2 separate regions of the Homo sapiens genome follow, and region 1 is linked to region 2. Evidence: promoter capture Hi-C in 16 types of primary human blood cells and fetal thymus (Javierre and others, 2016). All regions are on one chromosome and are shown on one strand. Each heading gives the region's core, a stretch centred on a gene start or on the middle of the fragment in contact. The rest is flanking DNA. Distances are from core to core; before and after follow the strand shown.

Evidence for each region. Contacts are between HindIII fragments. The CHiCAGO score rates a contact against its expected background, and 5 or more counts as called.
Region 1: the fragment with the promoter of KLHL9 here is called in contact with the fragment with the promoter of RRAGA in region 2 in 1 of 17 cell types (M2 macrophages); the score reaches 5.4 in M2 macrophages.

What each region holds. Positions count from the first base shown.
Region 1 is chr9:21,333,051-21,336,807 of GRCh38, reverse strand. It overlaps KLHL9 (kelch like family member 9), which reads left to right and starts at 1,404. Exons shown (of 1, transcript NM_018847.4): 1 at 1,404-3,757. The coding sequence starts at 1,949. LOC107987053 (a long non-coding RNA gene) reads right to left here. Exons shown (of 3, transcript XR_001746634.2): 3 at 1-187. RefSeq lists a silencer at 1,215-1,384 and enhancers at 1,425-1,734, 1,925-1,974. The HindIII fragment of the contact is 830 bases long and covers 1,114-1,943 here.
Region 2 is chr9:19,047,840-19,051,160 of GRCh38, reverse strand. RRAGA (Ras related GTP binding A) reads right to left here and starts at 1,734. Exons shown (of 1, transcript NM_006570.5): 1 at 136-1,734. The coding sequence starts at 1,501. The coding sequence ends at 560. It also overlaps a transcript of SAXO1 not described here. RefSeq lists a silencer at 1,476-1,665 and an enhancer at 1,273-1,794. The HindIII fragment of the contact is 15,757 bases long and covers 1-3,321 here.

The sequences.
Region 1 (3,757 bases), core at 155-2,654, 2.3 Mb before region 2:
CTTCCACCCCTAACTCATTCAACAAGCAGGGCTCCAGGACTTCCCAATGCTGATAAAAATTCAGTGAATAATTTCTCCAGGCCAGTTTCATTCCAACCAACCTCTTGTGTTGAATAAGGTGACAATCTGCTGGAGCACCTTGTGGAGGACAGTGGTAGTCTAAGCCTTCTGAATTTTGCTGCCATCCCTTGGAAACAATAGAAAACATTCAAAACAGATGAACTGCCCATCAACAGGGCACTGGTTAAATAACTTATGATGTAACAACTCAGAAGGCAACAACAGAATTGTTTAAAAATATAAATAAGCCCTCTACACTAATTCAGGAAGATCTTGAAGTGAAAAAAAAAGATGCAGAACAGTGTACATGGTATGCTATCTTTTACATAAAAACGAGGCGAGTGTAAGAAAAACATGACTACATTCTTACTTTGCATATGCATAAAGAACTAGAAGGATTTAAAAGACAGAAACTTCAAAATTTGGAAAATGGAAGAAATTGTGTCAAAGTATACATTTATTTGTATGTCAAAATTTAAATTTACCACTAATTAAAGAAATGCAAGTTAATAAAATACTCACAAAGGGAAAAGTCAGAAGAAGGGAAAGACACAAACATTGTTGGTGATAATATTTTGGAAATATTGTCTTGGATCAGTATTTTACTAAATATTATCCATAACAGGGCTAAAATTTTGCTACCAGATTGTATAAGTTTACTACCGAGTCTATAAAACAATGGAGGATAAGAAGGTACACATTCAGGAACAAACCAATGGGCAAAGGAAACTATAGTATGTATAGTTATTGGAAAATTATGTAGCCATTTTTAAAATTGTGGAAAACAAAGGCATTTCAAGCCAAAAATTTAGAATATATCATTTACATAATAAAGTAACAATCTAGTAAAGACAAATATTTTGCGTTTGAAATTGTAACAAATTTGAAAATATGAACCAAAATTGTAACTGAAGTATCTACTACATAATGTGGGATAACAATTATTGTTTTGTAGAGGAAAAAAAAAATTAAGCATCCAGGTTTCCTCTCAATTTATACAAATGCCGCATTTCACTGTTATTCAAAAAAACAGAAGCTAGGAAGCGTAAAGCTTTGAAAAATTATGCATTTGGGGAACGTAAGAGCTCAGATATGCGAAAAACTTATATCAAACGTGCAGCATAACACACTTGCTTGCACACATTCTGTCCTATTTGGTCCCACATACAAGGCAGCTCTAAGAGGCCGGGCTGGCGCCCACCCCACACAGCTCCGCTTCCCCAACCCTCGCCCTCCCGCCTCCCGGGTACTTCCTCCCCCTTCCCCACCCCCACCCTCCCGCTGACTGACGAGGTCTGGAGGCCGCGCAGCCGCAGTAGCCGCTAAGGCCGCTCCCACCCCGTGGTATCCTGGGACTAGGCTTTTCCGGAAGGAGCGGCTCGGTGTTGGGGCTAGGCCGGTATTCTAGGCCCAAGCCCAGGCCCAGGCCTGTGTTCCCGGCCCTTGCTCAAAGACAGGCCGGTGGCCGCTGCGACACTCTAGGTACAGCGGAGGGCGCAGCGGGCCGTTCGCTGAGGTGTCCGGACCCGCCGCCGAGCGGGCCGTGGAGCCACAGTACGTGGCGGCGCCTCTTCCTTGCCCGAAGCGGAACTGCTGAAGGAGCGGCAGCGCAGGCCGGACGAGGTGAACCAGGTCATTTAACCGCCTTCAGGTGATGAATCATCTGTCTAATAATCAGATTTGAGGTCCACAGCCCTTTGTGGTCCTGCTACAGGGTGATTTTCAGTGGATGACTGACTGGCGTGGCCCGAGGGGTGCCGCAGTGACTGCCTTCCCTTGATAAGGAAACGAGCTTTCTGTTCTTTCTGGACACCTCGTTACCTGTAAAACATTCCGGTTATAACTTCTTTATCCGGCTTGCATCTCTGTGCAAGAGGAAAGCTTTCACATGAAAGTGTCCCTTGGTAACGGCGAAATGGGCGTCTCTGCCCATTTGCAGCCTTGTAAGGCAGGAACCACACGCTTTTTTACCAGCAATACTCACAGTTCGGTGGTATTGCAAGGCTTTGATCAGCTTAGAATAGAAGGATTGCTTTGTGATGTGACCCTGGTACCAGGTGATGGAGATGAAATCTTCCCTGTTCACAGAGCTATGATGGCGTCTGCTAGTGATTATTTCAAAGCCATGTTCACAGGTGGAATGAAAGAACAAGATTTGATGTGCATTAAGCTTCATGGGGTGAACAAGGTTGGTCTGAAGAAAATCATTGATTTTATTTATACTGCAAAACTTTCTCTTAATATGGACAATCTTCAGGACACACTTGAAGCTGCTAGCTTTTTACAAATATTACCCGTTTTGGATTTCTGTAAAGTATTTCTTATATCAGGAGTCTCTTTGGATAACTGTGTTGAGGTTGGACGAATTGCTAACACCTACAATCTTATAGAAGTGGATAAATATGTTAATAATTTCATCCTGAAGAACTTTCCTGCTTTATTGAGTACTGGGGAGTTTCTAAAACTCCCTTTTGAACGACTTGCATTTGTGCTTTCCAGTAATAGTCTTAAGCACTGTACCGAACTTGAACTCTTTAAGGCAGCCTGTCGCTGGCTAAGGTTGGAAGACCCTCGGATGGATTATGCTGCAAAGTTAATGAAGAATATTCGATTTCCACTGATGACACCACAGGATCTCATCAATTACGTGCAGACAGTAGATTTCATGAGAACAGACAATACCTGCGTGAATTTGCTTTTGGAAGCTAGCAATTACCAAATGATGCCATATATGCAGCCAGTGATGCAGTCAGATAGAACTGCCATTCGATCTGACTCCACTCACTTGGTTACATTAGGAGGAGTTTTGAGGCAGCAGCTGGTTGTCAGTAAAGAATTACGGATGTATGATGAAAGGGCACAAGAATGGAGATCTTTAGCCCCAATGGATGCTCCCCGTTACCAGCATGGTATTGCTGTCATTGGAAACTTTCTTTATGTAGTTGGTGGTCAGAGTAATTATGATACAAAAGGAAAAACTGCTGTTGATACAGTTTTCAGATTTGATCCTCGGTATAATAAATGGATGCAGGTTGCATCATTAAATGAAAAGCGCACATTCTTTCACTTGAGTGCCCTCAAAGGACATTTGTATGCAGTTGGTGGGCGCAGTGCAGCTGGTGAACTGGCCACAGTAGAATGTTACAACCCAAGAATGAATGAGTGGAGCTATGTTGCAAAAATGAGTGAACCCCACTATGGTCATGCTGGAACAGTATATGGAGGCTTAATGTATATTTCAGGAGGAATTACCCATGACACTTTCCAAAATGAGCTCATGTGTTTTGACCCAGATACAGATAAATGGATGCAAAAGGCTCCAATGACTACAGTCAGAGGTCTGCATTGCATGTGTACAGTTGGAGATAAGCTCTATGTCATTGGTGGCAATCACTTCAGAGGAACAAGTGATTATGATGATGTTCTAAGCTGTGAATACTATTCACCAACCCTTGACCAGTGGACCCCAATTGCCGCCATGTTAAGAGGCCAAAGTGATGTTGGAGTTGCCGTCTTTGAAAATAAAATCTATGTTGTTGGTGGATATTCTTGGAATAATCGTTGTATGGTAGAAATTGTCCAGAAATATGACCCAGAAAAAGATGAGTGGCATAAAGTTTTTGATCTTCCAGAGTCACTTGGTGGCATTCGAGCCTGTACACTCACAGTTTTTCCACCTGAAGAAAACCCTGGGTCA
Region 2 (3,321 bases), core at 485-2,984:
TGTTACCAAACATCACTAAAGTGCTGGGGGCTAAATTCACAGAATCAAATTTGCCAGTCAAGCAATACTTGTGGGCAGTCAGAATTTTTAGATTTGCATATTAAGCACTTTCAAGTTATTTCAAATAAGGACATGTTTTAAATTGCTAACACGTTTATTCATGAATGAAGCCAAGAAGAATTTATAAATGCATTTTAATACCTTGCTGATAAAATAGTAACATTCCGTCTTTGCAATCTGATACGGAATACAGGAAGATACTGGTAAAGGCTTTGATGTGCATATCTATCATAACCAGGTAATGAGAACACACACGAACCACCTACTTTAGTGTTACACCATACCAACTTCTCAGAAAGGTCAGCTTCAAGCTCTACTGGGTAGCTGAGTAAATAGCGTCCAATGTTTAAAGACTGGGGAAGCGGGGAGAAAGATGAAAGGAGTAAGCAGCACACACTTCAAAGCCCACTTTTAAGCACACGACATTATGAATATTAAAAATAAAGGATGCAAACAAAAAAGGCAATTCAGCATTTTCAGAAAGAGCATTTGGCAATATTCAACGCATAAGGAGACTGTGCTTGGGGCCATCCACTCTCTCCAGCTTCTCAAAGTGTTTCCGGGCATTGCGAATGTTGATCAGAGTGGCCGCAGAAGGGATCGACGGATCTGACATGACCACCATCACGTACGTATTTGAGGTGAAGATGTCGATGAAAGCAGCGAAGTTGGAATTCCTAACTTCCATGCTCTGGAAGGAAGCGGCCAATTTACTGCAGCTCAGCTTGAACTGTTTGATGATGTTGCTGATCTTCTCAAACCGGTGGACGTCGCGCTGCTCTTTGCACTGGTAGTGGGAAATAACCAAGAATGTAGCTCTTTCGAACAGCAGAACTTCATCGGCCTCAATGATTTGGGCAAAATTCCTGAGGTTCATCTCCAGCTGCTGAACGTTGGGAATCAGCTGGTAGACGATGCTGGACCAGGCTTTGTAGAGCGTCTCATCCCAGATGGACGTTCGAAAACAAGCACACTCCAGCGGGCGAGACAGACGCCTCAGGTCTTCCTCTCGCTCTTTAAAAATCAGGTCACGCTGATCCTCCTGAACCAGATCCATTTTGTGCACCAGGCAGAAGATTTTGGCGTCAGGAGAGTTCTGGAGGATGGCCTCCAGACACGACTGGTAATAATGCATGTCCTTTTCCAGTTCGCGGCTCTCCACGTCAAACACGTAAATCAAAACTTCCACGTTACGGAAGATATTGTCTCGCTGGCTGGTGAAGTAATTTTCCATGAAGGTGTCCTGACCGCCACAGTCCCACAGGTTCAGCACCAGGTTCCCTAGGAATCGGACGTGGGAGTGTTCCACGTCAATGGTGGCCCCCAGGCGCCGGGTGTCGCGAGCAATGTAATTGGCGAAGATTATCGACCTCATGCTGGTCTTCCCCGACCCGCTCTTCCCCATCAGCAGCACCTTTTTCTTCATGGCTGTATTTGGCATCACCCGCCGGGGCACCGCGGACTGGGCCTGAGGGCGCGGCCTACACGCAGCGCCGAGGGAGGGGTCGGGGGCTGCCGGGGACTCGCAGGCCGCGCCTCGCTCCGCTCCGCCGCGCAGCTGGGCAGGCAGGAGAGTCGAGAGCGCGAACCCGGGGCTGGAGAGGCCGCGGACGGGCTGGCTCTTACTCAGATGGGAGCGCCCGCGGCTGTCAGTGGCAACGGCTCGGGAGATACGCTCGCTTTCCGGGAGGGAGCCGCTGCGTCCCCGCCACCACCCACTTCCGGCGGCGATCTCGCGAGAGCTCCCTCGCTCCGCCCTCCGTGCCCGACGAGCCTTGAAAAGCCGCTGCTCTAATGAAACCTAACCGGGGCGGCGTGAGCCCTAAGATGGAAGGGAAGCTCGAGGACTTCGGTCTTTTGTTCTGTTGCAGCTGGGTTTGCTGTTGCTAGGGGTACGTGTGTGGTTGGCCGGGGGAAATGCTGCCCTCTCGTGGCCAAAAAAAGCCCCAACCGCCACCACCACCGCAACTGGCTTTAGGAGCGAGGTGTGTCGGGCCGGTTTCCGCAGGGGCAGCCGACTGGTGAAGTGGAGGGAAAGCCTAACTTCCCAGTCCGCTTAGGCCTCCCCAGCTTGCCCGGCCCAGTGAGTACAAGGGCAGGGCAGATGGAGACTGTGCAGGCGCGGAAAGTGAGACTTGTAGGCAAGCGATTGCCTGTTGCTGCGCAGCTAGGTAATAGCAAGTCCCTCCTAGGAGACATCCTGGCTTCCAGTGGGTGCTTTTAATTCCTTTCTCACATCTGCTTTTCCGTAATCTCAGACTTTAGAATTTATAATTAGAATTCCAAAGCTCGAGGAAATGATAATGTGGAATCCCAGGCATTAGTTCCATCCTCACAGTAACCCTGTGAATTAATAACCCTATTTTCAAGTTAGGGAATCAAAGGTTAGAGAGGTTAAGTCACTTGACCAAGTTACACAGATACTAAATGATGAAATGGAATTTGGTTTTAGACAATCTTGCTGCGGTCTATTTGCCTAACAATAGGCTACCCTGTGCCCCTCTCAAAGCATAATATGATTCTGCTCTTGGTCTTCAAGTAGATGAGTGAATCAGTGTCGCCAGTATCGTTCATACAGAATGAATGAGAGTCATCAGGATACTGAAGCCTCTGTATCTACCTTAAAGTCCTTTTTTTTTCTTTTGAGACGGAGTCTCACTCTGTTGCCCAGGCTGGAGTGCAGTGGCGCGATCTCAGCTCACTGCAACCTACGCCTCCTGAGTTCAAGCGATTCTCCTGCCTCAGTCCCCCAAATAGCTGGGATTGTGGGCACCTGCCACCACGCCCGGCTAATTTTTGTATTTTTAGTGGAGACGGGGTTTCACTATGTTGGCCAGGCTGGTCTGGAACTCAAGCCAGCCACCTGCCTCGGCCTCCTAAAGTGTGGGATTACAGGCGTGAGCCACCGTGCCTGGCCTAAAGCCCTTATCAAAGTGTATACTGTACTGTACAAATTCAGGTATTCCATTCTTTCATTTATTCAAAAAATATTTTAATTCCTACTGTTAACGTGTGCAGTAAAAGAAGTTCAAAAATGGCCTTTGCTGTAGTTTATGGAAATCATAGAGTGAAATTCCATAATACAATATAGTATGTGGAAAATCTCCTCTCAATGTATTCAGTTTCATCTCCTTGGTGCTACCTCTTCTGGAGCCTTCTTATCTGATCGCCTTTCACCACCATTCTGGGGTTTCCCTTCCCCGTTCTTTCGAGTTGGGTATTCTTTTTCCTGATTTCACATCTTCTCATTTTTGGCTCATT